7 separate regions of the Homo sapiens genome follow, and regions 1, 3, 4, 5, 6 and 7 are each linked to region 2. The links are contacts of gene promoters, found by promoter capture Hi-C in human tissues and cell types (Jung and others, 2019). All regions are on one chromosome and are shown on one strand. The core of a region is centred on a gene start or on the middle of the fragment in contact, and the rest is flanking DNA. Distances in the headings are between cores, read along the strand shown.

Region 1 (4,174 bases), core at 1,218-3,717, 360 kb after region 2:
GGCTTTAAATGACGCAATTCTCCCTGCGTCATGGATTTCAAGGTCTTTTAATCACCTTCGGTTTAATCTCTTTTTAAAAGATCGCCTTCAAATTATTTTAATCACCTACAACTTTTAAACTAAACTTTAAGCTGTTTAAGTCACCTTCATTTTAATCTAAAAGCATTGCCCTTCTATTGGTATTAATTCGGGGCTCTGTAGTCCTTTCTCTCAATTTTCTTTTAAATACATTTTTTACTCCATGAAGAAGCTTCATCTCAACCTCCGTCATGTTTTAGAAACCTTTTATCTTTTCCTTCCTCATGCTACTCTTCTAAGTCTTCATATTTTCTCTTAAAATCTTAAGCTATTAAAATTACGTTAAAAACTTAACGCTAAGCAATATCTTAGTAACCTATTGACTATATTTTTTAAGTAGTTGTATTAATCTCTATCTTTCAAAGAGAAAAAAACTTATCTGCGGTTTCCTCAAGCTCCGCCTGCCCCCTCAGCAGAAGCCCCTGCGCTGGCTGCCTCAATGCCTACCGCACAGCTCGGGCGAGGCGTATTTATAGACGGAGAACAACTCGCATCACCGGAATTCGATCACCTTCCGCCGCCTTTGTGAGGGAGGCAAAAAGTAGTTCTTCGGTTAAAAATAGGTTCTAGTTTTACTTTTCTAGATTTTTCTTAACAGCTTATGGAACTTGAATGCAAACTACACATGCAGAAATACTTAAATTACTAGCGTGTGGAAAGATTTGAGCTGCAAACTTTAGACAAAAGAAACATGGAAATCATATTTTAAACGGGTCATCAAACACCTCACAAAACCCCCGGAACTTTTAAAATACCTCTTAAAGCACTTCTTGTGTTCTCTTGAGGGACAGTAGGTATAGTTTACCACCTTTTGAAGGAAGATTAAAGTGTGATAGTTCAGGGCTTTACTTTCCATTACGCAACTGAGCCCCAGCCTTGCAGGGACGGTTGAGAAGTGGCAAAATGGCGGACTTTCTCCCCCAACTGCTTGCAGTCCTGCGACTTGCTCCCAAGACAGCCACACGTTTTGCTTTTTTGTTCGAGAAATCGGAGCAGCACGGGCTGTCTGCTTGGGAAATCTTAGAAACGTGAAAACCCACTCTTGGAAAACGCCTCAATCCCACACCACAGAGCTGCTCCCCGCCTGAGCCCCGGGGGCCGTTGGCTGCCAGTGGCCCACTCTGATCTGCGGCCCCCCAGTTGCCGCCAGCCCCCCACGGCCCGCACGGAAATTTTTCTACCGTTTTTCAGCTTCCAGGCTCTCCTGAAAGTGCTCACAAGGCAAATCGCCATGGAAAGCGAGTTCAAGTGGCCTTTTAAAGTAGACCAACTAAGCGAATGGCTTTGTCTCCGAAGACACAGAGACCTTGGGCAGCCAGTCAGGGACACACCCAGAAGTGTTTACACTGCTCTGGGTCTGCTTTTTTAGGGGTTTTTGTTTTGCAGATTCTGTGTTATGCCTGGTTAGGTATGAGCTTCAGACCTTCTGAACCGGAGCAGGAAGAAAAATAAAAGCTTTCCTCCAAACCCCAAGACCAAACTGCAGAGTTTGAGTGGTTTTATCTAAATACCACCACCTGGAATGGCCAGCCTATAAGGACAGCTAAGATAGCAGCACAACTCGTCGCTGCGTCCCAAGGACTCTGGGAAACCTGGGCTCCCGGAGGCGTCAGAGGGGACCTGCCTTCAGGCGAGCTGAGGCTTCCCGGCGCCGGGCTTCTGCGTTGCTAAAATGGCGCTGCGCTTAAGAGGGCAGGAGAGGCCAGTTGCGGGGCCCCAGTCCTTTACAGAAGTCTCGGGCTGCAGGCTGCGGAGGGGAGAGCGGGGGCGGGGAGGGACTGCGCAACCGGTGGGGCTGCGTCAGGGACAAACGCCGGGGGAGGGGCGGCTCGCGAGCGCCGCGCAGGGATACGCGAGGGCCGTGAGCCGCCCTCCCTTTGTGAGGCGCTGGCTCGTGGGCGGGCGCCACTGGTTCTAACCGGCTCTAGCCGGTCCTGGCCGCCTTCCCGGAGCTGTGGCGGTTGGCGCAGCGCGTGACTGCGCACGCGCGCCCCGCCCTAACGCCTGTGCCTGTTCTGGGGAATGGCATGGGGGCGGGGTGGCAGCTGGCCTGGGAACTTCTCGGTCGCTACTCTGCGCTGTCACTGCACTTGGGGGCTGGTCTTTCTTTCGTGGAGCTGCTGCCCAACTTCCATTTTCAGTCTAGGTCTTCCTTTCCCACCTCTCTCCTGTCCTTTGTCATTTCCTCCATATAGTCTCGACGTCATCCATTAATTTAAAATCAGAACACAAACCTCGTGTAGCTATCAAGGGCCATGGCATTATTGTAAAATATCTTCGTCGTTTGTATGTCACCAGGTCTTACTAGTCTAGAATTCTCGGGGCAGAAGTGGTCTCAGGCTGACCTTGCAGCAGCCTAATTTTTTAGAAAAGAAACTGAAGCAATGACCTAAAATGGAGAGTTCCAGGGCACACAAAGCTTGGAGCTGGACGGGGTGGTGACACCCACCCTCTCCGCTCCCTCACCCCCGGGTCTTTGGAACCTGTATCCATGGCTTGTTTTTAGGCAGTCAACTCCGAGGGGAGAGATTAGTGACGCTGTATAGGTTAGGATGGCAAAACTAACACAATGATACAGCAACTCTATGAAGTTGATTTCTAAAACTCCTTTGGCTCCTGTAAATGATGCAGGTTGTGTACGGTGTTGGGGAGCTGCCCTGGGGGCTCCAGGAAATGAGGGTCCTGTTTTCTGGGCCAACTCCCTGTCCCCACCTGCCCACATAAAGCAGGGCCTGTTGAAGCAGCTGTTCTCAATTGACGCTGGTGAAACTGTTCTTGTTTTCTTTTCTTTTCTTTTTTATTTTTAAGCCTGTAAGAGTGGAATATTACTGAGATGCAGCCGGATCCCTTCAGGCACAGTCCTGATGCTTGCTCTGGGGTTGGAAATTTTTTAGTAGAATTTTATCGCTGGATGAAGGAAAACTGAGGCAGGTCACCTCGTTTCGCAAATGGGGATTTGGGGGCCTGGAGATTTTGTGATTTGCCTGAAATGACACACAGCTAATTAATAGCAGAAGCTGTTCTTGAATCCCAGATTTTCCACGTCCTGCTGCCTCCCTTCCTCTCCAGCACTTCTGTCAGTCTCTCCAACTGCGGTTTTTCTATATCTGGGGGAGGACCTAGGACCTGCTCTGTACTCTCTGCTCTCTCCTTCACTCTAGAGCGAGTGAGATGAACGTTAAGAGCCCTAAAATGCTTTAAATTATTGTCAGTGTCACTGCATTAATTTCCATTACCTTGACAGATTACAGAATGTTTCTTTTTTTTTTTTTTTGAGACGAAGTCTCACTCTATCGCTGAGGCTGGAGTGCAGTGGCGGGATCTCGGCTCACCGTAACCTCCGCCTCCCTGGTTCAAGCAATTCACTTGCCTCAGCCTCCCGAGTAGCTGGTACTACAGGCGCCCGCCACCACGCCCGACTAATTTTTTGTAGTTTTAGCAGAGACAGGGTTTCACCGTGTTAACCAGGATGGTCTGGATCTCCTGACCTCGTGATCCGCCCGCCTCGGCCTCCCAAAGTGCTGGGATTACAGGCTTGAGCCACTGTGCCCAGCCGCCAGAATGTTGTACAGTCATCCCTTGGTATCCATGGGGCCTTGGTTCTAAAACCTCTCCTCGGATGCTAAAATCTGAAGATGCTCAAGTTCCTTATGTAACCTACAGATATCCTCCCATATCCCTTAAATCATCTCTAGTTTGCTTATAATACCTAATACAACGTAAATAATTTTTATATTGTATTAATGAGGGAGTAATAACAAGAAACGAAGTCTGTATATGTTCAATACAGATTCAATTTTTAAAAATTTTTCTTTTTTTTTTTTTTTTTTTTGAGATGGAGTTTCACTCTTGTAGCCCAGGCTGGAGTGCAATGGCGCGATCTCGGCTCACTGCAAGCTCCACCTCCCAGGTTCAAGCGATTCTCCTCCCTCAGCCTGCCGAGTAGCTGGGATTACAGGTACGCACCACCACGCCCGGCTAATTTTTTTTGTATTTTTAGTAGAGACAGGGTTTCACCATGTTGGTCAGGCTGGTCTCGAACTCCTGACCTCAGATGATCTGCCTCCCTTGGCCTCCCAAAGTGCTGGGATTACAG
Region 2 (3,560 bases), core at 1,061-3,560:
AGCCTTTGAGACGCGCCCTTTCCCAGCCCCCGGAGCCTGGACCGGCTCCTTCCTGTCACCCCAGATTCGAGAGCGGGGTCTTTGTGTAGGCGAGAGGAAGGCGGACAGCGCCCCCTGTGACGGGGAGGACTGGCTGGGCGGCGCTTAACGGACTAACCTGAGCTTGGCGGCTCTAAGGTCTCTTAAGATTGTCAGCTTCAGCCTCAAGCTTGAAGGAGGCTGGAGATGGAGACTGGTCTTGAAAAGAGTCCAGGAGAGGCGGGGGCTAGGAGACAAACGGGTGCAAACGTATTGGTGGGAGGGACACCCAGAAATGGGTGCCGGGGATGAGGACACAAAGGTAAGGCAGGAGGAGCTGCAGGACCCTTGGAGGAAATGGTGATCCTCATCCCCGGGATACAGGGCAAAGAGTGTGTGGTGGAGAGGAAGTCGGGGACGTGCCGAGAAGGCCCAAAATAGAACTCGGAATGTCGGGGGTCAGAGGCCTAGAGGAAGGAGGACTGTAAGTAAGAGGTGCTTGGGCATCCTGGCAGTTGGGGAGGCCTGAGATGGGCACGCGGTTGGGTTTGGGAGCGGAGGAGCAGGCTGCGGGTTAAGAAGCCCAGACACAGGTAGAGGGGAGAACACTTCGTCATTTTTGTGGCTAATCGGAAGTGGGAGACCCTCAGGGAGGTTGAAGATGGAAACCCTACAAAGGGCTTCAACCTGAGAAGCCTGAAAGACACGTATAGCTGAGTTGGACACAGGCGACCCGCCAGGGTTTGAAGCAGCACCCGGCCTCTAGCTGCTATGCCGGAAGTCGCAACACGCAGGTCTCCAGCCTGCGAGGAAGGGAGAGGTGGGCGCCAGAGCTCCAGTCCCGCCCCTCAGGACTGTGCCTAGCCCACGGCGCAGTAGCCCCAGCCAAGCTAAATTGGACCAATGGGCTCCGGCTCCCGCCTCCCGCCCGCCGCGGCCTTATAAGGAGCCTCAAGCCGGCTGTCGGGCTGGCCCCGCCCCCTCGAGTCTCTTGTCCTAATAAGGACATCTAGGGCATCCCGCGGCTGGGGGCGGGCGAGAGCGCGTCTCCAGGGTAACTGCGAAGCCCCCCTCTCTCTCCCCGTTGCTCTTGGAAACTCTAAGGCTCAGAAAAGGGGGCGCTAGCCTCATATTCATGTAGGGTCGCTCGCGGGAGGCGGGGTCAAGCTGCTGTCTCCACCTGGAGCGCCGGGAGTCCGGGCGGGGGCGGTGCTGTGGAATGTCCCCGACTACAACCCCCGGTATGCTCTGCAAGGTACCCCACTCCCAGGCATCGCTCTCCGTTTACACCCTTAATTCCGTTTATAGGATTAGGGCCCCCAGTTCCCTTTCTGGGTTTGCCTCTGACTTGTTTGCGACCCAGTCTTTTCCTGCAGAGTGTGAGGCTGTGGTCACTGTTCTAGAACAACAAAATCATCCCGGAGTCCCCCGCTCGTTTCTTTTTTTTTTTAAGGCATATACTACCACAGAACTTGTCTCAGTTTTGCGGATGTTAGAATAACCATGTACCTGGCTATCAACTCGAGAGCTGGGTTCAAGTCTGGTTTAATATCTATTTCTTCTCATTGGCACGTAAAGGCATGTAAAGAAGCCTTGAATTGAATGCACAAACCCTCGTCTTTACCCTTTAACGCCTCATGACTTTGCCAAACATCTTTAAACAAGAACAAAGCTCTCAGAGATTTCCTTGTACCTTTCCCCTGTGCCTTTTCCTCCTATTCTTGTTTTACTGACGTTGGACATGGCCTTTTTTCAGGAGACGAGAGTGGCTTTACACATGCAGAGTACTAGTGTTTATCCGACTGACGACGCCTTCATACTTGTGATTTCCTTTGCTTTAGGTCGGGATTCCAGGCTAATCAATAGTTGCTTCGATTCAGAAATGCAAAACCCTAACCTCACTCAAAAATTTCAGGCCAAGGGATCCAGATAATACCAGATGGGTCTTAAGAAAGCCGTTTTGCTGTGGGATAAAGAGCCGCTTAGTCGGGGATCGTTTTCGGGTCATTTTACTGAGCGCCGCCTCGCCGGGCTCAGAGCGGTTCCTGGGAAATTGGACCAATGGGCTCGCGCTGCGCGCTGCGGTGCCGCCCAGGACCTGGGCCTACATTTCCCTACATGCACTGCAGCTCGGAGCCGGCCGGCGGGAAGACTCCGTTACCCAGCGAGCGAGGCGGCGGCGCAGGGCCAGCGGACTCCATTTCCCGTCGGCTCGCGGTGGGAGCGCCGGAAGCCCGCCCCACCCCTCATTGTGCGGCTCCTACTAAACGGAAGGGGCCGGGAGAGGCCGCGTTCAGTCGGGTCCCGGCAGCGGCTGCAGCGCTCTCGTCTTCTGCGGCTCTCGGTGCCCTCTCCTTTTCGTTTCCGGAAACATGGTGAGCGGCAGGCCACGGCGCCTGAGGGAGGCGGCTGCGGGTCGGTCGCCTGCGCGCGGGAAGCGACTGGGGAGCGACGTCCGCACCCCCTCCCCCAGCGCCCCGGGCGGGATGAGGGTCTCGCACGAAGGGGCGGGCGGTGCCGGAATGCGCGTGCGCGCCCGTGGGCGCCGGGGAGGGCCGGTCTGGACGTCGCTCGCGCTCCGCCTGGGCTCCCCTCCCCCACCCGCTGGTGCGCCCGCGCGGACACCGGCCGCGGGGGGAGGGGTTCGGGGCGCGCGCTGGGGCGCCCCTCGCGGAACGGCCGGCGTCGCGCCTTTCTTCTTAGGGGCGCGCTCTCGACTGGAGCATGCGGCGTCCAAACCCGGCCCGGGGGCGGCGAGGAAAAAGCGCGCGAGAGGTCTCGGCGCGCGCGCCCCACCCAAGGCTGTTCCTGTCTGCGCGTCACCCTCCCTCGGCAGCCGGGTCCGTCTCGGGAGCAGGTGGCAGGGATGCCTGCGCCCGGGAGGGGCGGGTGCTGGCGCGGCGAGGGGTGATGCTGGGAAGACGGGGTCCCGGTTGGGGCGTGGGTGCCTGCGATTAAGGCCTTGCACCGCAAGGCTTGGAGGGGGCATCGCAGAGACCGCGGCCCGTTCGGGAGCGCATCTAACGAGCTGCGTTCTCACCCGTGCATCGGGCGAGGGCTGGAACGGCGCTGTCTGTCGGCGCGTGCGCGCACGCTCAGGCCCGGCCGCCGGTGCCGAAGCCCTGGGCCAGCGAGGCCTTCCCGGATGGGCCTGAGTGAGGGTGGAGCCGAGTTTAGGGAAGTGACCCAGGCGGGCACCGCCCGGAAACCACCCCGCCCCCTGTATACGGCCCGAGGGCTGAGAAAACCGAAGGTTATGTAGCTTGCCCAGGCTCCTGCCTGCAGGAGATGGGTCTGATACACCCGTTGTTTTAGGGCGATTCCACAGGGTTAGGGACCTGGAGATGCTGCTGCCTCTCGGATACGCGTTTCTGCATTGGTGAGGGGGCCGGGCCCAGCCGATCTCCTGTCCCCGCCCACTCCGGATGCGGCCGAGTCACGTGGCCGGCTTCTTCTGCAGTTCCGGGGAGTTTGGGGGACCAGATTTACCTTGGATTGCCCCTCCCTCTCCTGGCTCGGGCACCCCGAAGCACGACGCAGAG
Region 3 (3,992 bases), core at 758-3,257, 410 kb before region 2:
GAGCCTAGGAGTGTATGACCAGCCTGGGTGATGCAGCACAACCCCGTCTCTCTTTTCTTTTGTTTTTTCGAGACAGAGTCTCGCTCTCTCACCAGGCTGGAGTGCAGTGGCACGATCTCGGCTCACTGCAACGTCCGACTCCCTGGTTCAAGTGATTCTCCTGTCTCACCCTCCAGAGTGGCTGGGATTACAGGCATGCGCCACCATGACTAGCTAATTTTTGTATTTTTAGTAGAGACGGGATTTCACCATGTTGGCCAGGATGGTCTCGATCTCCTGACCTCGTGATCCACCCACCTCGGCCTCCCAAAGTCCTGGGATTACAGGCCTGAGCCACCGCACCCGGCTAACCCCATCTCTTTGGAGACAACAACAACAACAACAACAACAACAACAACAACAACAACAACAAAAACCTGTTATGAAGTCACCAGGAAGAGGTGGTCAAGTTGCAGTGAAAATTGCACTTAAGGCTGGGTGCAGTGACTGACACCTGTAATCCCAACACTTTGGAAGCCCGAGGCACGAGAATCATTTAAGCCCAGGAGTTTGAGATCAGGCTGGGAAACATATCGAGACCCTGTCTTTACAAAAAATTAAAAAATGTGCCAGGTGTGGTGGTGTGCCTCTGTATTCCCAGCTACTCAGGAGGACAAGGCAGGAGGACTGCTTCAGCCCAAGAGTTGGAGACTGCAGTGAGCCATCGTCACGCCACTGCACTCCAGCCTGGGTGACAGAGAGAGACCCTGTCTCAAAATAAAAAAAAAAAAAGGCAAAAGGTAATCACATTTAATATACTTGAGTTCCAACCTGTGGACGGACCCTGTGTGAAGTACTTTAAATGCATCATCTCATTTAATCTTCACAACAGTTCAATGAAGTCAGTTTTGTCATTGTCAACTAATGAGGAAACCAGAGGCCAGAGAAGGGAAGTGACTTGCCCTAACTTACACAGTTTATCGCTTTAAGACTCAAACCAGGTTTCTCAGACTCCAAAGTCCCTTCGAGAGCCTGCTGGTTCCCTTCTCTGTTCCCCTCCCAATCCAGCTCAGAGCTTCACCCTTCCCCAAGGAAATCTGAGACCTGGATGTGGAGTAGAAAAAGGAAGTGGCAGAAAAGGAAGAAGATAACTGATACTTGGGGAAAACTATTAGTCCTGGGCATGAGATGTGGGCCACCTACCCGCAGGGGGAGTGACCAAGAGTGAGGAGAGTTTGAGGACCAGAGAATCCCACAGGAAGGGGGAGAGCAAATTCCATATTCATCTAAACTTCACAGGCAGTGTGACAGCCAAGGGAAGGGGTGTGACGGTGGCGTTGGGGGCCTGAGCAAAAGCGAGGAGAGGGCGGGAAAGGACGGACCGGCGGGAGCGACAGGACAGCGCGACCCAGGCAAAGGGTAGGAGGCAGCCCCGGAAGAGAGGACCTGCGGGAGACGCGACCCAAGCGGCGCTTCGGGGCCTCCCGCGTAGTTGGCTAGCTTCTGGGCCGGCCCCAGGAGCCGGGCTTCAGGAGAAAGAGAAGGGTAGAGGGATTCACTGCCCGACCTAAAGGGCCCAAGCCTGAACCCGAGACCAGAAACTATCAAGACGGGCTCCAAAACTCCGGGACAGTTGTCAAGCAGCAGGTGGGGAAACTGAGGCCTGAAGTGACCGGGACTGCGGGGTCATCTGACCGATAAGGCCTGGTAGGACCGATGTCTCGAGCTCCAAGAGCTGCCCCTGGGGGTCGCCACGTCTGGGCCCCGGGTGCGAGGGCTCGGGGTTTTGAGCCGGGGTCCTGGGGCCCCTGGGGGGAGGGGCAGAACCCGGATGTGGGGGGGGGTCAGCGGAAGAGGGACCCGGATGTGGGGGCGCCGCACAGTCCTGACCCGGGCCAGACAACCCCGGTAAGCGTACAGCCCTGTATTCGGGATCGAGGCTGCGCTGGACGGCGCGGGCGGGGCTCACTCACTATTCGGGGTTCATGGCGGCGGCGGCGGCCCGCTCGGTCGCTCCCAGTCGACTCTGCTCCGCCTCCCGTTCCAAGATGGTGGCCGCTCCGCCCCAGAGGCCCCGCCCGCGACGCGCAGGCGCAAACGTCTTCTTCTCAGGCCTCGCCGCGCTGATTCCCGGAACTTGTAGTCTAAGACGTTCTCCAACTCAGCCCCGCTGCGCAGGCGTAGTCGGGGAGCCCGCGCCTCCGCGCCCACTCCCATCACTGCTGGCGCATTGCCTTCTGGGGCTTGTAGTTTGCACTCCGGACGCACTCAGGCTTGAGGACAGTGCTGGAAAGCCTGACCGCGACTCGGTGTTTAGAAAGCTCAATTTAGGGCTGGGCTTGGCACGTTTCACATCTGTCTGACGGAGGTAGTCATCCTTGCCCTCCCAATACCCACGTTGTGAACATTAAATGAGAATGTGGGTTCTAGTAAGACTAATAAAAGTACATTTGTCCAGGGTTCTTCGTGTACTGGGCAGTCCTAACTCGCAGCCGCGCGTCATCACCCGCATTTCATAGATGAAAAAACTGAGTCTCGGGAAACTCACTCAAGGTCAAAAACTTTGTGAGGAGCAGAGCTCATAAGAGCCCGCGGTCTCCAGAACCCCACAAGTGAGTGTTTTAGGGAAAGCCTGACTTGTGGGCCCCTCACGCAATTCCGGGGTGGGGCACAATATCTGGGCCCAGCTGCGCGGACAGCGGTTGAGCGAGACACACTGTCCCCCACTCACGCACGACCCTTCCCGGCTCCACCCCAGTCTAGAGACGCTGGGGGCCCCCGACCTCCGTCTCAAAACAAGCCCAGCTCAGATTTAAACCGTCTTTATTTCTACAGCAACATCTGAAAATATGAGAGCAGCCGCCTCACCCGCAACAGGGGGAGCCCCTCCTGCCACCAGGGGACCGTCGCCGCCCCTCGCGAGAAGCTGCAGGCGTGGGGGGAGGCGAGGCAGGATGGCTCGGTGGGCGGTGCCCGGGGCGGGGTCGGCCGTGCCTGGGCGGGGCCGGGTGGGAGGGGCAGTGCATAAGGCCGGGATGCGGGGCAGGGCCCGGCGGTGGGAGGACGGACTAAGGGGAGGTCCCCGTCCTGGGCCACGGGGCGATGGCGCGGGTAGGACGCATCCCTCAGAGGCCAGGAGGAGCGCGAGAAGGTCCCAGGACCCCCTTGGGAGGCGCCGCTCCCGAGAATGTAGAGCCTGGGAGATACCACCGCACGGAATGGGGGTGATTAAGGCCTGGGCGGTACCACTAGAAGAGGGACGAGGGGAGGCCCGGGTAGTACCGTGGACTGAAGGGAGGCGCGCGGCCAATAACTTATTTCTCTATATACAGAAGCAACGGCCGGGTTGAGTCGGGAGGGAGGGCGAGGGTGCCGAAGGGCCGGCGAGTGCTTAGTGTTCTTGGCTCTGGGGTCTGGGGAGGCCAGGCCACTGAGTCTATGGTGGAGACTCCAGCCGGCACCTCCTGCTGGCCCGAACCTAGGGAAGAGGGCCCTGCTGGAAGGAATAAATAAGGGATGGAGCTGGAGTGGGCAGGCCCAGCCTCCAGGGCTCAGGCTGAGATGACAAGGGAGAAGGTTACCCTGAGATTGAACAGAAAAGACAGGGGCTGTGGGAGAGACAGGCGGGACAAGCAGCAGGCCCATGCGCAGGGCTGGGGTGAGGGGGGTGTGCCAGGTGGGCGCTCTGGTGACTGGCTGCCCCTTCAGCATTAGCCCACCAGGGAGCTTCGTCGGGAGAGGTCCATGGAGCTGGAGCTGAGAGTGCGGCTGTCAGAGAGACCTGTGCCTCCAGGCTGTGGGCAGAGGGGGCAGGTGGCTCAGCCCTGTGCTGCTGCCAGTCTGTGCCTCCCTGGCCTGAAGGGGTCTGACCTGGCAGAGGCAGCCGGAATCCCTGAGCTGGGCAGAGGCAATGGCAGTTCTGACCCAAGGCCACACCCTGGTGCCCTGACACTCCCGTCCATCTCCACAGTGACGGTGTTAGCACTGGCCGTTTACACGTCCACCCCCAGGAG
Region 4 (4,162 bases), core at 573-3,072, 470 kb before region 2:
TTTCTCATCAGTAAAATGGGGTAATAGGACCTACCTCCTGGGGTTGAGGTGAAGATTAAATGAGTTAATGCAGGAGAGTGCTTGGGGCACAAATTACTCACTATCAAATCTTCATCTCAGGCTTGTGAGCGCCCCACTGGGCTGTCCTTGCACCTGCGGCTGTGGCCCACAAGCCGACCCCTGGAGCACATAGAGCTTTTGCCGCTTGGTTCTCCCACTGGATCTCCACCTACCCACCCTGTCCCTGCACAGCCCAGAAAGCTGATGTCTCAGCTTTGGAGCCAGATGCATGCCAGCCGGGGCTGAGTACTTGTTTTTGCTTCTCCTCCTGCATAGCACCTCCTCCGAGTAGCCTATCAGGATCCCAGCAGTGGCTGCACCTCCAAGACCCTGGCCGTGCCCCCAGAAGCCTCGATTGCCACCCTGAACCAGCTCTGTGCCACCAAGTTCCGAGTGACCCAGCCCAACACTTTTGGCCTCTTCCTGTACAAGGAGCAGGGCTACCACCGCCTGCCCCCTGGGGCCCTGGCCCACAGGCTGCCCACCACTGGCTACCTCGTCTACCGCCGGGCGGAGTGGCCTGAGACCCAGGGGGCTGTGACAGAGGAGGAGGGCAGTGGGCAGTCAGAGGCAAGAAGCAGAGGGGAGGAGCAAGGGTGCCAGGGAGATGGGGATGCTGGGGTCAAAGCCAGCCCCAGGGACATTCGGGAACAGTCTGAGACAACTGCTGAAGGGGGCCAGGGTCAAGCCCAGGAAGGCCCTGCTCAGCCAGGGGAACCAGAGGCAGAGGGAAGCCGGGCAGCAGAGGAGTAGCTTGAAGTGGCCAGAAGGGTCATTCGGGGCGGGAGACCCTGAGCCTGCTGAGAAATCCTTTTAGCGCCAGCAAGCCCCACCCAGGGCCCTGTCCTGTGTCTGCCACCACCTTTGTCTGATACTTGTTTCCAGGGAAGCTGGGGGAACTGCCACATCTGAGGAACTGGAATAAAGATGAGGGGGCTTCGGGGGCCCCCAGACTGTGTGCCCAAGGCCCCTTGCCTCTTGTTCTTCTCCCCCAGCTGAGGGTGAGCCAGCCTGCAATGAGGGTGTGCCAAGTGGGGGCGAATCCGACAGATGCCCAACCTCTGACGTGGGGAGGGTGACGGTCTCAGCTCCTTTTACCCTTCCCCTCATGGGCATGGCTGAGGCAGGGCTCCACCCAAGTATCTCCCACCAGGCTGGGACTTCCAGACCCTAAAAGGTTCCAATGGCTCTTAGGTGTCAGGAGGATTTAGAGAGGCCACAGAACAGCAGCAAAGGCTTGGGGCCCACCCCTGTCCTGGACACCAGAAGGACCTGCACCTGCAAGCCTCAGTACTCTCATCTGTAAAGTGGGGACACTATTGCTGCCCTGCTCGGCTCCCAGAAGTGTCCCAGTGATCAAAATGGGTGATTTTGCTACAAGCAGAGCTCATGGCAGAAAGGGAGGGAGAGAGCTGGGCTGCTAACTCTCTCCCGGAGTCCGCTCTCTGCCAGACAGGGCTCCCACCTGCTGATGCCCAGTTCAGGGAGGTTATTCCCCTGGAAATCAGGCCCTGGGGAGAAAGTACCCAAGTTACAGTCTCTCCCCAAGATTTGGAGTCCTCCCAGGCCCTCCAGCATCTCTGGGGAGATCCACCAGCTGGCAGATAAGCTTCCAGAATGGAGAGGGGGCTCAGAAACCATGCTCTCTGCACTAAACTCTTGGCCCTCACAAAAGCTTTACTTGGCCATGACTTGTTGGGCCCACTGAGGGTCAGGAAAGTGACTCCCAGGATGTCATATAGCAAGTCCTTAAGGGTTCCCCCGCCCAAACCAGGGCATCAGGTTCCAACTCCACCCTCCATTCTAAGCCACCCACAAAGGCCGGGGCAGCCCCCAAGGAAGCCCAGAGCAGGCAGCAAATCCAAACAAGGAAAAGTGCCGACCACCAACCACGAGGGGGTGTGCACGGCCCGGGAATCTGCCGAGAGGGTGACCACCCAGGGGTGAGGGCGCCTCCAAGGCTGCAGCAGCAGAGGGGGTCCCGGGCCTTGCAGTCCAGCAGCATCAGGCAACCTGGGGACAGCGCAGGGGCCAAGGCCACTGGCCCCCAGGTCCCTTAGATTCTGGGGTCTGGGTAAGGCCAGCCTCTTGGGGGCCATCCCCAGGAAGGAAGGAATTGTCCCCTTATGGAGGATGACCCCAGAGGCTCTCTCCTCGGGCACTGAGCACAGAGGGGACGTCAGCCCAAATGTCAGACATGACAACTGGGAGGTAGAAATCGTGGACATTGGCTTTTTGGGTTTTTTTGTTTGTTTGTTTGTTTGAGATGGAGTTTTGCTCTGTCGCTCTGGCTAAAGTGCAGTGGTGCCATCTCGGCTCACAGCAACCTTCGCCTCCCAGTTCAAGTGATTCTCCTGCCTCAGCCTCCCGAGTAGCTGGGACTACAGGTGTGCACCACCACACCTGGCTAATTTTTGTGTTACTAGTAGAGACGGGGTTTCCCCATGTTGGCCAGGCTGGTCTCAAACTCCCGACCTCAGGTGATCCGCCCGCCTTGGCCTCCCAAAGTACTGGGATTACAGGCGTGAGCTACCACACCCAGCCAGACATTGACTTTCAGATGAGCAGTCCAGATACAGCCCAGTTGCACGGCTCCCATTTTTTTTGTCACTAGGCCACCAGCAGCTCTTCCCTCCCCACTTCCACGCCCTCCCAAGGTTCTCGCTGATAGGAAGTGTCCCGTTGGCTCTTCTATTCCCCTCCCTGTTTCACCACTCACCCCTAGTGCCTCACACAGTCCAATGCTGAGCACAAATGCCATAGGTGTTCAATAAATGTTGTTCACTGATTGGAGTTTGATAACCAGGAGTGAGGGACAGTGAGGCAGAAACCTGGGGAGTATAAGGGAGGACTCGGTTCTGGGAATCAAACACGGGATGTGTCAAGCTCAGTCCCAGAGGAAGGACCTGGAATGTTTGTAGAGGGTGCTCGGAGGATCCCAGGGGCCGGATGTACAACTGGCCTCATGGGAATGAGGCTCTGGGGCCTCTACAAGCCCTTCCCACCCTTGCCAGGCTCAGCATGACCTGACCCCCTCCCTGCCCTCCCCAGTGATGGGGCACCACAGGGAGCTGCTGCCTGGGTCTTGTGGTTTTTCTTCTCAAGAAACTCTGGGCTGGGCCTGGTGGCTCACGCCTGTAATCCCAACACTTTGGGAGGCCGAGGCCGGTGGATCACCTGAGGTCAGGAGTTCAAGACCAGCCTGGCCAGCATGGTGAAACCCCGTCTCTACTAAAAATACAAAAATTAGCCAGGCGTCGTGGCACACACCTGTAGTCCCAGCTACTGGGGAGGCTGAGGCAAGAGAATCACTTGAACCCGGGAGGCAGAGGTTGCAGTGACCCGAGATCACACCACTGCACTCCACCCTGGGCAACAGAGCAAGACTCCATCTCAAAAAAAAAAAAGAAATGAAAAGAAAACAAAAAAGAAACTGATTGGTCAGGGGTCCAGGCCAAATCAGCATCAACAAGATTATGATCCTGGGGCAGAGCCTCCAGGCAAGGCAGACAATGATAGGCCAGTGTAAGACCAGTCTCACTAGCCCCATTTTACAGATGAGAAAACTCAGACTTGCTCAGGGAAAGTGCCTTGTTACAGGACAAAGGGCTCAGACACCAGGTTCTGTAGTCCTTCAAAGCAGAGGGGCTGATTTATATGTCCACTCAGCACATCTATCAAACATCTGTTATAGGCCGGGCAAGGTGGCTCAGGCCTGTAATCCTAGCACTCTGGGAGGCCGAGGTAGGCAGATCACCTGAGGTCAGGAGTTCAAGACCAGCCTAGCCAACATGGTGAAACCCCATCTCTACTAAAAATATAGAAGTTAGCTGGGCAAGGTGGCTCACGCCTGTAGTTCCAGCTACTTGGGAGGCTGAGACTGGAGAATTGCTTGAACCTGGGAGGTGGAGGTTGCAGTGAGCTGAGATCACACCACTGCATTCCAGCCTGGGCGACAGAGCAAGACTCCAAAAAAAAAAATCAAACAACAACAACAACAACAGAAGTGTCTGTTATAGACCAAGCACCAAGCGCCCCCAGCTCCAGCCAAAGGGAAATAGGTCACATCTCTCCATTTGCATGGCGTGATCTGGGTGGTAAC
Region 5 (3,675 bases), core at 8-2,507, 270 kb before region 2:
TTTCTTCAATTACTTGAATACCTGAATTATCCCAGTTTTCTATTTTATTTTATCTACACAGGCATAGTTAGACACTGGTTAGAGTAAGACTAGAGGCAAAAGACACCCCTGGTTACTCTACTTGAATCTGTGAGTAATGTGTATTTTCATACACTTTGAATTATTTAACATGACTTAGCTCTCTGACCCTGGAAAATCACTCTGAATCCAGAACATCTTCAAAATAGAGGATGGAATAAAATTGCTTCTAAGATCCTTTTGACTTACTTGGTTTATATCTTCTTTACTATGGGATCAAATCCCATTAAACAGCAAGTCAGTGGCTCAAAATATTTCAAATACTAGAACTTCATTGTAGCAAATGATGCTAAAAGTAGAAATTTAATTGCAATAAGATTTGGTCTACGCATTAATTGATGTGGTACTTTAATTTTTTATTTCCGTAGGTTTTTGAGATTTTGGTGCACCCAACACCCAAGCAGTATACACTGTACCCAATTTGCAGTATTTTATCCCTCACCTGCCTCCTGCCCTTTCACCCGAGTCCCCAAAGTCCATTGTATCATTCTTATGCCTCTGCATCCTCATAGCTTAGCCCCTAGATGCTGTATTTTTAAAAAGAATTTATTGTTCACCAATGTTCATAGCAGCATTATTCACAATGGACAAAAGGTGGAAGCCACCCAAATGTTCATCAATAAAGAGACAGACATGGAAAGAAACAGTTCCTCCTCCTCAATGGGATGTTCTGGTGTCTCCCTGTGGCACCTGGAACTGCGACAGGCCACCTGAGACCATGGGGAGCCAGCGGGCAAGCCTGTACTGAGGATGACAAAGCAGGAGGGCAAAATGAACTTGGCTCCTTGATGCCTTTGCCAGGCTGCTCAGTTAACCAGCACTGGACTCACCCTTGCCCCAGACTTTTGTTTTCTGAAATGATAAACATCTGTGTGTTTAAGTCATTGAGCTGGCTTTTCTGTTTCTTGAAGGTGAAAGCATTCTAACTGATGACACACACTGACCTAAGATGTCTGACACACCATGAGACTTATGCAGTAATGAAAGGCAGAGTTTGATCTCCATAATTAACAAACTCACTGAAAGGCAAAATACACCGTTCTTGTCATTAAAATGCAAGAAAGGCTTCAGAGCAGGTAAAGAACAAGGTTAAAGTGCAGTAAGCAGATCCATACATTTAGCCATTCAATACATAAACGTGGACCCAGAAGTTATCCTGAATGAACCAATTATGCCCCACTTCAGAAATATTAGAAGATGATGACTTAAAATACTGTCTTTATGATCACAACAACCCTAACTATATAACTCTAGGTTATATTATTCCCATTTTATAGATGAAGACACTGAAGCAGAGAAGAAGCTGAGTAACTTGCCCAAAGCCATTATGTCCACAGTTTTCTCTGCCTGGAACTCTTCCTTCTCTTCACTTAGCTAATTCCCACACATCCTTCAGGTTTCAACTTAAGCAATCACTCCTTAGGAAAAAGGCTTCTTTTATGTGTTCAGACAAGGTCCAGAGCTCCTATTATGCTCCACTGCACTCCTGTTCTATGGCAGCATTTTGCACACTTGAGATTAAATATTTGTCTTCCCACTAGAATGCCCATGGCCTGAAACAGTTCCGTCTTTTTTACAACTAGACGGTATTGCCAAAGCTGCGCAGAATGCCTGCCCTTGACAGTCTCACAGTCTGATAGCGAGACAGCAAGTAAACAGTTCCTTGGAGATATTGTGGCTTTAGTTCCAGACCACTGCAATAACGCAAGTGACATGAAATTATTTATTTCCCGGTGCATATAAAAGTTATGTTTACACTATACAGTAGTCTATCAACTGTGCAATAGCATTGTCTTAAAAAAAAAAAAAGTATATACTTTAATTTAAAAATGGGCTGGGTGCGGTGGCTCACGCCTGTAATCCCAGCACTTTGGGAGGCTGAGGTGGGTGGATCACGAGGTCAGGAGATCGAGATCATCCTGGCTAACACGGTGAAACCCCACCTCTACTAAAAACAACAAAAATTAGCCGGGCGCGGTGGCAGGTGCCTATAGTCCCAGCTACTTGGGAGGCTGAGGCAGGAGAATGGCATGAACCCGGTAGGTGGAGCTTGCAGTGAGCCGAGATCACGCCACAGCACTCTAGCCTGGGCGACAGAGCGAAACTCTGTCCCAAAAAAATAAATAAATAAATAAAATAAAAAAATAAAAATGGCTTATTGAGCCAGGCGTGGTGGCTCACGCCTATAATCCCAGCATTTTGGGAGGCCGAGGCAGGTGGATCACCTTAGGTCAGGAGTTCAAGACTAGCCTGGCCAACATGGCAAAACCCTGTCTCTACTAAAAATACAAAAATTAGCTGGACATGGTGGCACGTGCCTATAATCCTAGCTACTTGGGAGGCTGAGACAGGAGAATTGCTTGAACCCAGAAGGCGGAGGTTGCAGTGAGCCAAGACCATGCTACTGCACTCTAGCCCGGGCAACCAAGCAAGACTCCGTCTCATTAAAAAAAAAAAAAAAAAGCTAACAATTTTCTGAGCCCTCTGCAAGTTGCAATCTTTCTCCTGGTGGAGGGTCTTGCCTCAATGTTGATGGCTGCTGACTGATCAGGATGGTGACTGCTAAAGGTTGGGGTATCTGTGACAATTTCTTAAAATAAGACAATGAAGTTTGTCACACTGACTCTTCCTTTCATTAAAGATTTCTCTAAAGTATGCAATACATTTGATAGCATGCTACCCACAGCAGAATTTCTCGCAAAATTGGATTCAGTTCTCTCAAACCTTACTGCTGCTTTATCACTAAGTTTATGTAATACATAGTTATTGTTATAAATTATTGTAATACATTATCATTTCAACAGTGTTCACAGCATCTTTACCAGGAGTAGGTCCCATCTCAAGAAACCACTTTCTCTGCTCATCCACAAGAAACATCTGTTCAAATTTTATCTCGAGATTACAGCAATTCAGTCATATCCTCAGACCCCACTTCTAATTCTAGTTCTCTTGCCATTTCCCCCACTTTTGCAGTTATTTCCTCCACTGAAGTCGTGAGCACCTTGAAATCATCCATGAGTCGAAATCGACTTCTTTCAAACTCCTGTTGATGTTGATACTTTGACCTCCTCCCATGAACCACAAATGTTCTTAATGGCATCTAAAATGGTGAATCCCTTCCAGAAGGTTTTAAATTTACTTTGCCCAGATCCATGAAAGGAATCACTACCTATGGCAGCTATAACCTTACAAAATGTTTCTTAACTAATAACACTTGAAAACTGAAAATATTCCTTTATCCATGGGCTGCTGCATGGATGTTGTGGTTAACAGGCATGAAAACAACATTAATTTCTTTGTACATCTCCATCTGAATTTTGGGTGACCAGGTGCACTGTCAATGAGCAGTAATATTTTGAAAAGAATCTTTTCTTCTGAGCAGGTCTCAACAGTGGGCTTAAATATTCAGTAAACCATGCTCTAAATAGATATGCTGTCATCCAGGCTTTTTTGTTCCATTTATAGAGCACAGGCAGAGTAGATTGAGCATAATTTTTAAGGGCTCTAGAATTTTCAGAATAGTCAATGAGCATTGGCTTCAACTTAAAGTCACCAGCTGCATTCACCCCTAACAAGAGAGTCAGCCTGTCCTCTGAA
Region 6 (3,964 bases), core at 1,449-3,948, 300 kb before region 2:
AACATCAGTCATTGGATTTCAGGTCTGTCTTCAATCCAAGATTATCTCATCTTCAAAGACTCTCGATCCAAATAAGGTCACATTCCTAAGTACCAGGGGTTACTTGAGGGCCAATATTCAACCCACTACACCAATTAATATCCATCAGGTTGGGCTCCTAAAATAATGTGTGTTTGCCTCTCATGGCAATCATCACATTCCTCCTGGAATCCAACCTGACTGTGGAAAAGCTATTATTTATAGGAAGTCAATAGGGAATCTCTCGAGGCTGTGAATGCTCATTCTCTAATTTATCTGTTTTGCAAATCAGAGTAAGGGTTTTTCCGTAGGAAAAAAAAATGTAGCCAATTGAATTTCTACTTACTTTTCTGGCTGAGATTTAAAGTGGGAATTTATTCATTGTCCCAATGAAATTAGAGTAATAGGATCTTTTTTTATTACCCACAATATAGACATTCTTATCTTTTACTTGAGTTTTAAACCACAGATTTATTCACTTTTTTTTCTAATTGCCCAGGAAGAAATTATTTTCCAGTTAGCTAGGGGGAACTAAGATTCCATCCGCTCTACTTCAGTTTCCTTTCTCCACTCTAGTGCCTTCTTTATTTTTATTTATTTGGTGTTTTTATTTTCGTTTTAGAGATAGATTCTTGCTCTGTCCCTCAGGCTAGAGTACAGCAGTGTGATCTCGGCTCACTGAAGCTTTGAACTCCTGGGCTCTTATGATCCTAACTCCCTCAGCCTCCTGAGTAGCTGAAATGACAGGTACATGCCACCACGCCCGGCTAATTTTTTTTTAGTGCCTTTCAGCCATCTGCCAGTCACGGAAATTACATATTTGTGTATGTTTGTTTATCCCCTGTAGCACTTCTTGCCTGCCGGCACCACTCATGAGTGCCATATATATATTCTCTATTTCAGAGGCTGATGAAATTTCTTTAAACTTTGGCCATACACACAGAATAACAACAACAACACAAACACATACACTTACCTCTGCCTCGCCTATTCTAGATGCTCTACATATATTAGCATCTTTTATCCTCACTAAGTGAGGGGTACTATTAGCCACATCTTACAGATGAGGAAACTGAGAGAGATGAACAGAGATTAGTAAACAGCGGGACCTGAATATGAACCCAGGTAGGTGGCTTCAGAGTCCATGTTCTTAACCACAATGCAAGCAAGACTGCCTCTGAGGATGTGCCCAGATGCTAACACTGTTCTATTAGTGGTGAGGTGATAGATGAGTTTTTAAAAAATGCTTTTTGGTCAGGTGCAGTGGCTCACACCTATAATCCCAGCACTTTGGGAGGCCGAGGCAGGAGGATCGCTTGAGCCTAAGGAGTTCAAGACCAGCCTGGGAAACATAGTGAGACGTCATCCCCACCCTCACTCCCCTGCCAAAAAAAAAAAAAAAAAAAAAAATCAGCCAGGCATGGTGGCACATGCCTGTAGTCCTAGCTACTTGGGAGGCTGAGGTGGGAGAATCACTCGAGCCCAGGAGATTGAGGATACAGTGAGTCATGTTAGGGCTACCGTACACCATCTTGGCCAAGGGACCTCATCTCAAAAAAAAATAAGCTTTTCTATATATCCCACATTTCCTATAAAGATCATGCATTAATTTTTTTAATCAGGAAAATATATTTTTAAACAAAACTTTCACAATTTGTGGGGGTGTAACATCATACTGGCAAACATATAACACTATAAGCCAGATACTGTTATGTGCAATGTATATAATTTAATCTTCAAAACAATTATAATCTTTATTTTATATTTGAGAAAACTGAGGTGCAGAAAACTTCAGTAGTTTACCTGAGGTCACGCAGCTAGTAGGTGTCAGCCAGGATCTAGCACCAATCTGTGTTAACTAGGTTAGGCTGCCTAAATTAGATATAAAACTTGGGTGTCAAACTCCAATTTGAATTACAGTCACATTGCGCTAATGTGTTGAAGAACAGAGACCATGTCCAACTCTTAATGAATCTAACTCCTAGCACAGTGGTTTAAAAGAAAACAGGAAATGTGTAGCTTATTTAATTAAACTATAACCTTTACCATTCAATATAAATATACTAAGGGGAGAAAATAAATCTGCTTCACCACACTAAGTATTAAAAAACCCAAGTGTTATCATCCTAACAGACTTCTTAATTGGACAATACTAGCCCAGATTAAAGGGCATTTAAATTACCCCTTTCTAAACAGTGTCACGAATGCAGAATATTTTCTCCCTCTCCCGCTGGATGAGCTGGGCATGTTGCCAGATCTTTTTCTAATTAGGTCCTGTGGTTAATTTCTTAATCCATTAGCATTTCCTTACAGCTTGTTAAATGTAAAGATAGCTGGACTTTTTCCACTGTTTCTGTGAAAGTGGAGTAACCTTCCATGTCAGTCTCATAAGGGTGGATTGATCAACACTAAACAGCTGCCATCCTACATTTACCAGATCAGCAAATACCACCCGCTCCCCCACCCCCAAAACTGAAAAACCTACGACAATCTCTTGGCCAGGCTGTGGGGAAGCAGGCACTGGTACCTAGCTTGTGGGAATGTAACTGGCACACCCCTATGGAGGGCAGTTTGGTAATGTCTCCCCACCTTGCATATGCACATACTCTTTGACTCAATATTTCTTTTTTTTTTTTGAGACTGAGTTTTGCTCTTGTTGCCCAGGCTGGAGGGCAATGGCGTGATCTTGGGTCACGGCAACCTCCGTCTCCCGGGTTCAAGTGATTCTCCTGCCTCAGCTTCCTGAGTATCTGGGATTACAGGCATGTGCCACCACGCCCAGCTAATTTTGTATTTTTAGTAGAGATGGGGTTTCCCCATGTTGGTCAGGCTGGTCTCGAACTCCCGACTTCAGGTGATCCACCTGCCTTGGCCTCCCAAAGTGCTGGGATTATAGGCGTGAGCCACCACGCCCGGCCGAGACCCTGCATTTCTGAAAACATTTTTCACTCTTGATTTGACAGTTTGACTAGGTGTAGAATTATAGACTGAAAATTTTTCCATCAGGCTTTAGATGGCATTCATCTATTATCTTATAGATCCCAGTGCTATTGTTAACTGGTCTAATGTCACTTGTTTTAGATCATTTTTATGTGACTTTTCTCTCTGATGCTTTTAAAATTTGTCATCAGTGTCACAAAATTTCATGACAATGTACTCTGTTGAGGGTCTTTTTCATCACTTTTTTCATTCTGGACACTGGGTGAGCTCTTATCCATCTGAGACATTTTTGGGGAAAACCTCTTGTGTTGCTTTTTAAATAATGCCTTGTCCTTCATCTTTCTAGAACTCCAATAGTCAGATGTTGGACCTCCTAGATGTCCTTTAATTTTCTTTTTTCTTCCACTTATTGTCTATTATCTTTGACCAACTGCTTTACTTTACTCTCTCTGCCACCCAGGTTGGAGTGTGGTGGTGTGGTCATAGCTCACTGCAGCCTAGAACTCCTGGGCTCACGCAATACTCCCACCTCAGCCACCCAAGTACTTAGAACTAGGGGTGTGCCCCACCATACCCAGTTAGTTTTTTCTGTTTTTGTAGAGACAGGGTATCATCACCATATTGCACAGGCTGGTCTTAAAGTCCTGGTCTCAAGTGAGCCATCAACACTGGCCTCCCAAAGTGTTGGAATTACAGTTGTAAGCCACCACGCCCGGCCTATCTTCCAACTGCTTTACTGCAATCTTCACTTAGTGAGATTTTTCAATTCTCAAGAACATTCTTGAATAGTTCCTTTACATGGCATCCTGCTCTTGTTTCCTTGATGTAACATCTTATCTCTAAGGAATTTGTTTTTCAAAGTGCAGGCCGGGCACAGTGGCTCACACGTGTAGTCCCAGCACTTTGGGAAGCCAAAGCCAGTGGATCACTTGAGCTCAGGAGCTCGAGACTAGTCTGGGCAACATGGCAAAACCTTGTCTCTACAAAAAATACAAAAAAATTAGCC
Region 7 (3,980 bases), core at 722-3,221, 300 kb after region 2:
ACCACTACACCTTCGGCTCTCCCTCTCCACCACACCCTGTTGTTCCACTGGCCTTCCCTCAGTTCTCTGGATAGCCTCCCCCTGCAGCCTCCCCTGAGGTCAGATGCCCACAGGTGTGACTCACTCCTACTCATCTTCCAGCTTCCGATGGAAGACTCTCTTTGTCTCCCAGGTCCCAGCCCTCTCCTGTCCTGCTTCCCTGCCCTTCTCTGTCACGGTACCAGCCTCTGTTGTAGCCACAGTTCTGTGTGAATTGATCTGGCACATATCCAGCTCTCCTAGTACAGCAGCTCCAGGAAGGCAGGACTGGTTCTATTTGTGGCCAAGAGCTTAGGATGTGGTGGAGTCTCAGTTTGTTGAGTGAATTTTTTACATTTATTTTTTAATTTTTTGTTTTTTATTACCAGTAGTTGAACATAGATGTTGAGTGAATAGATACCCATCTCACAAGCAAGGAAACTGGGGCTTAGAGACAGTAAGAATCCAACCCTGGACTGTTTGACTGTGCTGTGCTCCATGGTGAGCCACAGCCAGCTCTAGGCAGAGTCAGGACAGGTTCAGATGAGTGTTAGGAAAAAATGAGTATACAATGCTCAGCCCTGTGCCTGGCAGGTGGTCGGCACCTAGCATTATTCCCTGCCTCCGTGTGGACCAGGGCCCCAAGAAGCAGGGGCTTGCCCCTCACACCCCATCCTGGATTCCGGCAGCAGGGATCCCTGGGGACATGTGATTGTCCCTCCCAGCCCTGCACCGCTTAGTAAGGGGGACTTACTAAGCGTCCCCCTAAAGCTACCCACATCAACTTACGCTCAAAGTAAAAACAGAGTTCCTTGGACAGGTGTGCCTGAAAGTGAGTCCCTGAACCTCCTCTCCCCAATTAGACTGCTGCCCCGGGTGCTGTCCGGGAGAGGGTCTGGTGCCGCCCTGACTTGGCAGCGCTTTTCCTGGATGTGCCCTAGCCGTCCCCACCTCCTGCTGAGTTCTGTGAGTCAGAGACGGAACCCTGGGGTCTCCTGGCAGGCCCCACAGTAAGGCCTGGGCCCCCGCACGTTGCAGCCTTTCCTTCCAGACCAGCGGACAAGCCTGGTCTGGAACTATGCTCCTCTCCAGCCATGGCCAACCTGAAGACCCCCACCCCCAGCCGCTGCCAGCCCCTGCCCTGGGGCTCTGCTGTGCCCCTCTCCAGCCCCTGGGCCCTCGGACAGCGCCCCCGTCCTCCCGGCTGTTAGCCTGGGAAGGGGGCCAGGCCCTGAGCTCAGACCTTGGCGATTCCAGAGTGTCTGAGGCCCAGAGCCAGCCCCGCCAGCACGGCCAGACGAAAGGAAAGGGGGGAGGTGGCAGGGTGGGCACCAGGAAGCCATTCCGAGGGGGCTGGCAGGGAAGCTGGGTTCTAGCTTTGTTCTTTCTGCTCCTCTTCTGGACCCCACAGACTTCCTCCTGGGACCTCCGTGAGCCCTGGCCAAAGGCTGTCCCCACCCTTTAGCCCTTTCCTCAGAGGGGATTGGACCAGCACTAACGAGAAGTTACTTTGGGGCCCTGAGACCCCCACGTTTGCAAGGGAGGCTGGGAAAGAGCTGGAAGGCCTGGGCTCCGGCTCCACCCGGCCTCCATCGTCAGTGTGACCCGGCAGGGCCACCTCTCTCCCTCAGCCTCGGTATCTCGCTCTACGCAGGCCTCCCCGCCCCGCCCCGCCCGGAGGAATCCGCGGCCGGCCAGACGGTCCCAGGTGAGGGCCCTCTGGAAAGGGCCCAGCGCGGCCGCGGGTTCCGGCGGGGGCGGGCATCTGGGGTGGGGACTGTCCCCGCGCCACCCCCCAGCCTCCGCCAGCCTGCACACCCTCGCTTCTCCAGGCGGCAGAGGCGACGCTTTAAACAACAAAAAAAAAAAAACTGTGTCCCTGGCCCGGGGCCAGCGTCCCAGCCCCCCTCGCCGCCGCCGCGCCGCGCTCCAGCCAGGGAAAACAACTGCTCACTTCTCCCTGAGCCCTCCCCGCGCGCTCCCTGCCTCCCCGCGGCCGCGGGAGAGGAGCCCGGCCAGGGGGAGGCGCGGAGCGGGCCGGCCGCCCGGCCTTCCTCTCCCTCGCTCCTCCTCTCCGCCTCAACTTGCTCCGGCCTCCTCGCTCCTGCCTGAGTTCGGGGCCTGGTCTGGGCTTCGTCCTGGGGCTGGGAAGTTTCTGCGCTCCCCGCTGTCCAGTCTGCATCTCCGCGCCTCCCGCCGGGCCCCCGCGGTCCCCTCCCGCCCGCTTCCCCCGCTGCCCTCCCTCGCTGCCCCCTACCCTCTCCCGGGGCTCCCGGCCCTCTACTCCCTTCGGGCGCGGGCCCCTCGCCCCGCCCGGGCGCGCCCCCCCTCCCCCGGGTCCTGCGGCCCCGGATGCCCGGGCCCCGAGGGGCTGCTGGCGGCCTGGCCCCTGAGATGCGCGGGGCGGGGGCGGCGGGGCTGCTGGCGCTGCTGCTGCTGCTGCTGCTGCTGCTGCTGGGCCTGGGCGGCAGGGTCGAGGGGGGGCCGGCCGGCGAGCGGGGCGCAGGCGGGGGCGGGGCGCTGGCCCGCGAGCGCTTCAAGGTGGTCTTTGCGCCGGTGATCTGCAAGCGGACCTGTCTCAAGGGCCAGTGTCGGGACAGTTGTCAGCAGGGCTCCAACATGACGCTCATCGGAGAGAACGGCCACAGCACAGACACGCTCACGGGCTCCGGCTTCCGCGTGGGTGAGGGCCGGGGGCACGGCTGGGGGCAGGGGAAGGACAGGCACCAGGCCCGGTGGGAGAGCTAGTGGGGTCTTGGCCTTAGAGACTGGGGGCTGAGGGTATAAAGGGCAGAGATCCGAGGGCCTGGGGGACCAGGGGCCTCAGGGAACTTGGGAGGCTGGAACTCTGGGGGCCAGAGTTGGAGGGCTGCATGGAGGCCTGGACTTTGAAGCTTTGCGTTAGGGTTGGGGCCTAAGGGGTGGGGAAATGCAGAGGTCCTGGATGACACTGGCTTCCCAGAAGGTGCTGAGTTCTGAGCAGGAGCACACAGGGTTTTTGAGGAATGTGAGCCGGGGACAGGAAGCCTCAGAGAAGGGCTAAATATTCCCGCAAGAAGCAGACTTGCTGGAAGAAACAAGAAAAGTCTTTACAAAATGTCTAAAGTAGGGCCTGCCAGAGTAGACACCTGCATTCCCTGGGAGGAGGAGCTAAGGTCAGGGCTGGGGATGGGAGCCGGCTACTGGCAAGGTCTGAGTAGGGAGGGTGTTGAGGCCTAAAAGTAGGGTGCAGGCCTGAAGGTAGGGACTAGTTCGGGGTTCTCAGCCTCTCCTTTTCCAATGCCTCCCCATAAGCTCCTAACATCCTGCCTCAGAGGCCCTCAGGGCCCCCCTCATCCTCCCCCAAGCCCCTACACCCTCCCCAGTTCAGCTTGGAGTCCACCCCCTCCCCAGCATCTCTCTTTAAAGGGCCAGGCCTGGGGCTCAGTCATCCTCCTGCTAGGCCCCGTGGGCCAGGCTCGGGGAGGTGTCCCAGCAGTAATTACCCTCCTGGACAGGGTAATTAGGCCAGGCCCAGGATGGCACCAGCAAAACAGCCCCTCTTACACATTCCTATATTCACTCTCCCACTCACAGAGCTAAGGAACCCCACTCATGTGGCTCAAATTTGTCATGAGATGGGGTGTGCGTGCGTGTGTCTGTGCGCATATTGCCCCTGTGTCTGGGGTCATGCCATGGGCATGGCGTGGCACACTGTGAAGTACCCGTCTTTGTGTTGTCTTGGGTGTGTGTCTCTAGTCGCTGTTAGAGAGTATGTGGGAATGTTTTTGTTTTTGTGTTTTTGAGATGGAGTTTTGCTCTTGTTACCCAGGCTGGAGTGCAATGGCGCAATCTCAGCTCACTGCAACCTCCCCCTTCTGGGTTCAAGTGATTCTCCTGCCTCAGCCTCCCAAGTAGCTGGGATTACAGGCATGCGCCACCACGCCTGGCCAATTTTTTTGTATTTAGTAGAGATGGAGTTT

The links. Contacts are between HindIII fragments. The study calls those that stand out against the background at their distance.
Region 1: a fragment that was not itself captured here is called in contact with the fragment with the promoter of CFL1 in region 2 in 2 of the 25 tissues and cell types used here (dorsolateral prefrontal cortex and lymphoblastoid cells).
Region 3: the fragment with the promoter of RAB1B here is called in contact with the fragment with the promoter of CFL1 in region 2 in 2 of the 25 tissues and cell types used here (lymphoblastoid cells and spleen).
Region 4: a fragment that was not itself captured here is called in contact with the fragment with the promoter of CFL1 in region 2 in 2 of the 25 tissues and cell types used here (dorsolateral prefrontal cortex and spleen).
Region 5: a contact is called between a fragment that was not itself captured here and the fragment with the promoter of CFL1 in region 2, in 3 of the 25 tissues and cell types used here (lymphoblastoid cells, mesendoderm cells and spleen).
Region 6: a contact is called between a fragment that was not itself captured here and the fragment with the promoter of CFL1 in region 2, in 1 of the 25 tissues and cell types used here (spleen).
Region 7: the fragment with the promoter of LTBP3 here is called in contact with the fragment with the promoter of CFL1 in region 2 in 1 of the 25 tissues and cell types used here (dorsolateral prefrontal cortex).

What each region holds. Positions count from the first base shown.
Region 1 is chr11:65,495,394-65,499,567 of GRCh38, reverse strand. MALAT1 (metastasis associated lung adenocarcinoma transcript 1) reads right to left here and starts at 523. Exons shown (of 1, transcript NR_002819.5): 1 at 1-523. It also overlaps TALAM1. RefSeq lists enhancers at 1,393-1,462, 1,523-1,762, 1,992-2,136, 1,923-2,362, 1,332-2,531 and 2 more, a silencer at 1,803-1,862 and a cis regulatory region at 2,056-2,071. The HindIII fragment of the contact is 3,150 bases long and covers 893-4,042 here.
Region 2 is chr11:65,856,930-65,860,489 of GRCh38, reverse strand. It overlaps CFL1 (cofilin 1), which reads left to right and starts at 2,310. Exons shown (of 4, transcript NM_005507.3): 1 at 2,310-2,393. The coding sequence starts at 2,391. MUS81 (MUS81 structure-specific endonuclease subunit) reads right to left here and starts at 57. Exons shown (of 16, transcript NM_025128.5): 1 at 1-57. RefSeq lists enhancers at 1-34, 1,105-1,194, 1,755-1,824, 2,215-2,264, 2,198-2,738 and 2 more and silencers at 855-934, 2,345-2,744. The HindIII fragment of the contact is 15,299 bases long and covers 1-3,560 here.
Region 3 is chr11:66,266,654-66,270,645 of GRCh38, reverse strand. It overlaps RAB1B (RAB1B, member RAS oncogene family), which reads right to left and starts at 2,007. Exons shown (of 6, transcript NM_030981.3): 1 at 1,953-2,007. The coding sequence starts at 1,966. It overlaps KLC2 (kinesin light chain 2), which reads right to left. Exons shown (of 16, transcript NM_001318734.2): 16 at 2,786-3,773. The coding sequence ends at 3,690. KLC2-AS2 (KLC2 antisense RNA 2) reads left to right here and starts at 2,235. Exons shown (of 3, transcript NR_186342.1): 1 at 2,235-2,347; 2 at 2,438-2,591; 3 at 2,815-3,097. RefSeq lists enhancers at 907-1,788, 1,949-2,278, 2,399-2,448, 2,749-2,798, 3,555-3,992 and silencers at 2,909-3,228, 3,249-3,298. The HindIII fragment of the contact is 7,867 bases long and covers 1-3,992 here.
Region 4 is chr11:66,328,927-66,333,088 of GRCh38, reverse strand. It overlaps RIN1 (Ras and Rab interactor 1), which reads left to right. Exons shown (of 10, transcript NM_004292.3): 10 at 337-2,848. The coding sequence ends at 813. Among named protein-coding and RNA genes, the nearest start is that of RIN1, 5.4 kb to the left of the region's middle. The HindIII fragment of the contact is 6,220 bases long and covers 1-4,162 here.
Region 5 is chr11:66,122,056-66,125,730 of GRCh38, reverse strand. The region is part of intron 1 of PACS1 (phosphofurin acidic cluster sorting protein 1); the gene reads right to left. Among named protein-coding and RNA genes, the nearest start is that of PACS1, 54 kb to the right of the region's middle. The HindIII fragment of the contact is 8,035 bases long and covers 1-3,675 here.
Region 6 is chr11:66,158,128-66,162,091 of GRCh38, reverse strand. The region is part of intron 1 of PACS1 (phosphofurin acidic cluster sorting protein 1); the gene reads right to left. Among named protein-coding and RNA genes, the nearest start is that of PACS1, 90 kb to the right of the region's middle. The HindIII fragment of the contact is 3,109 bases long and covers 1,144-3,964 here.
Region 7 is chr11:65,556,350-65,560,329 of GRCh38, reverse strand. It overlaps LTBP3 (latent transforming growth factor beta binding protein 3), which reads left to right and starts at 1,971. Exons shown (of 28, transcript NM_001130144.3): 1 at 1,971-2,701. The coding sequence starts at 2,371. RefSeq lists silencers at 1,693-1,852, 1,903-2,142. The HindIII fragment of the contact is 15,125 bases long and covers 1-3,980 here.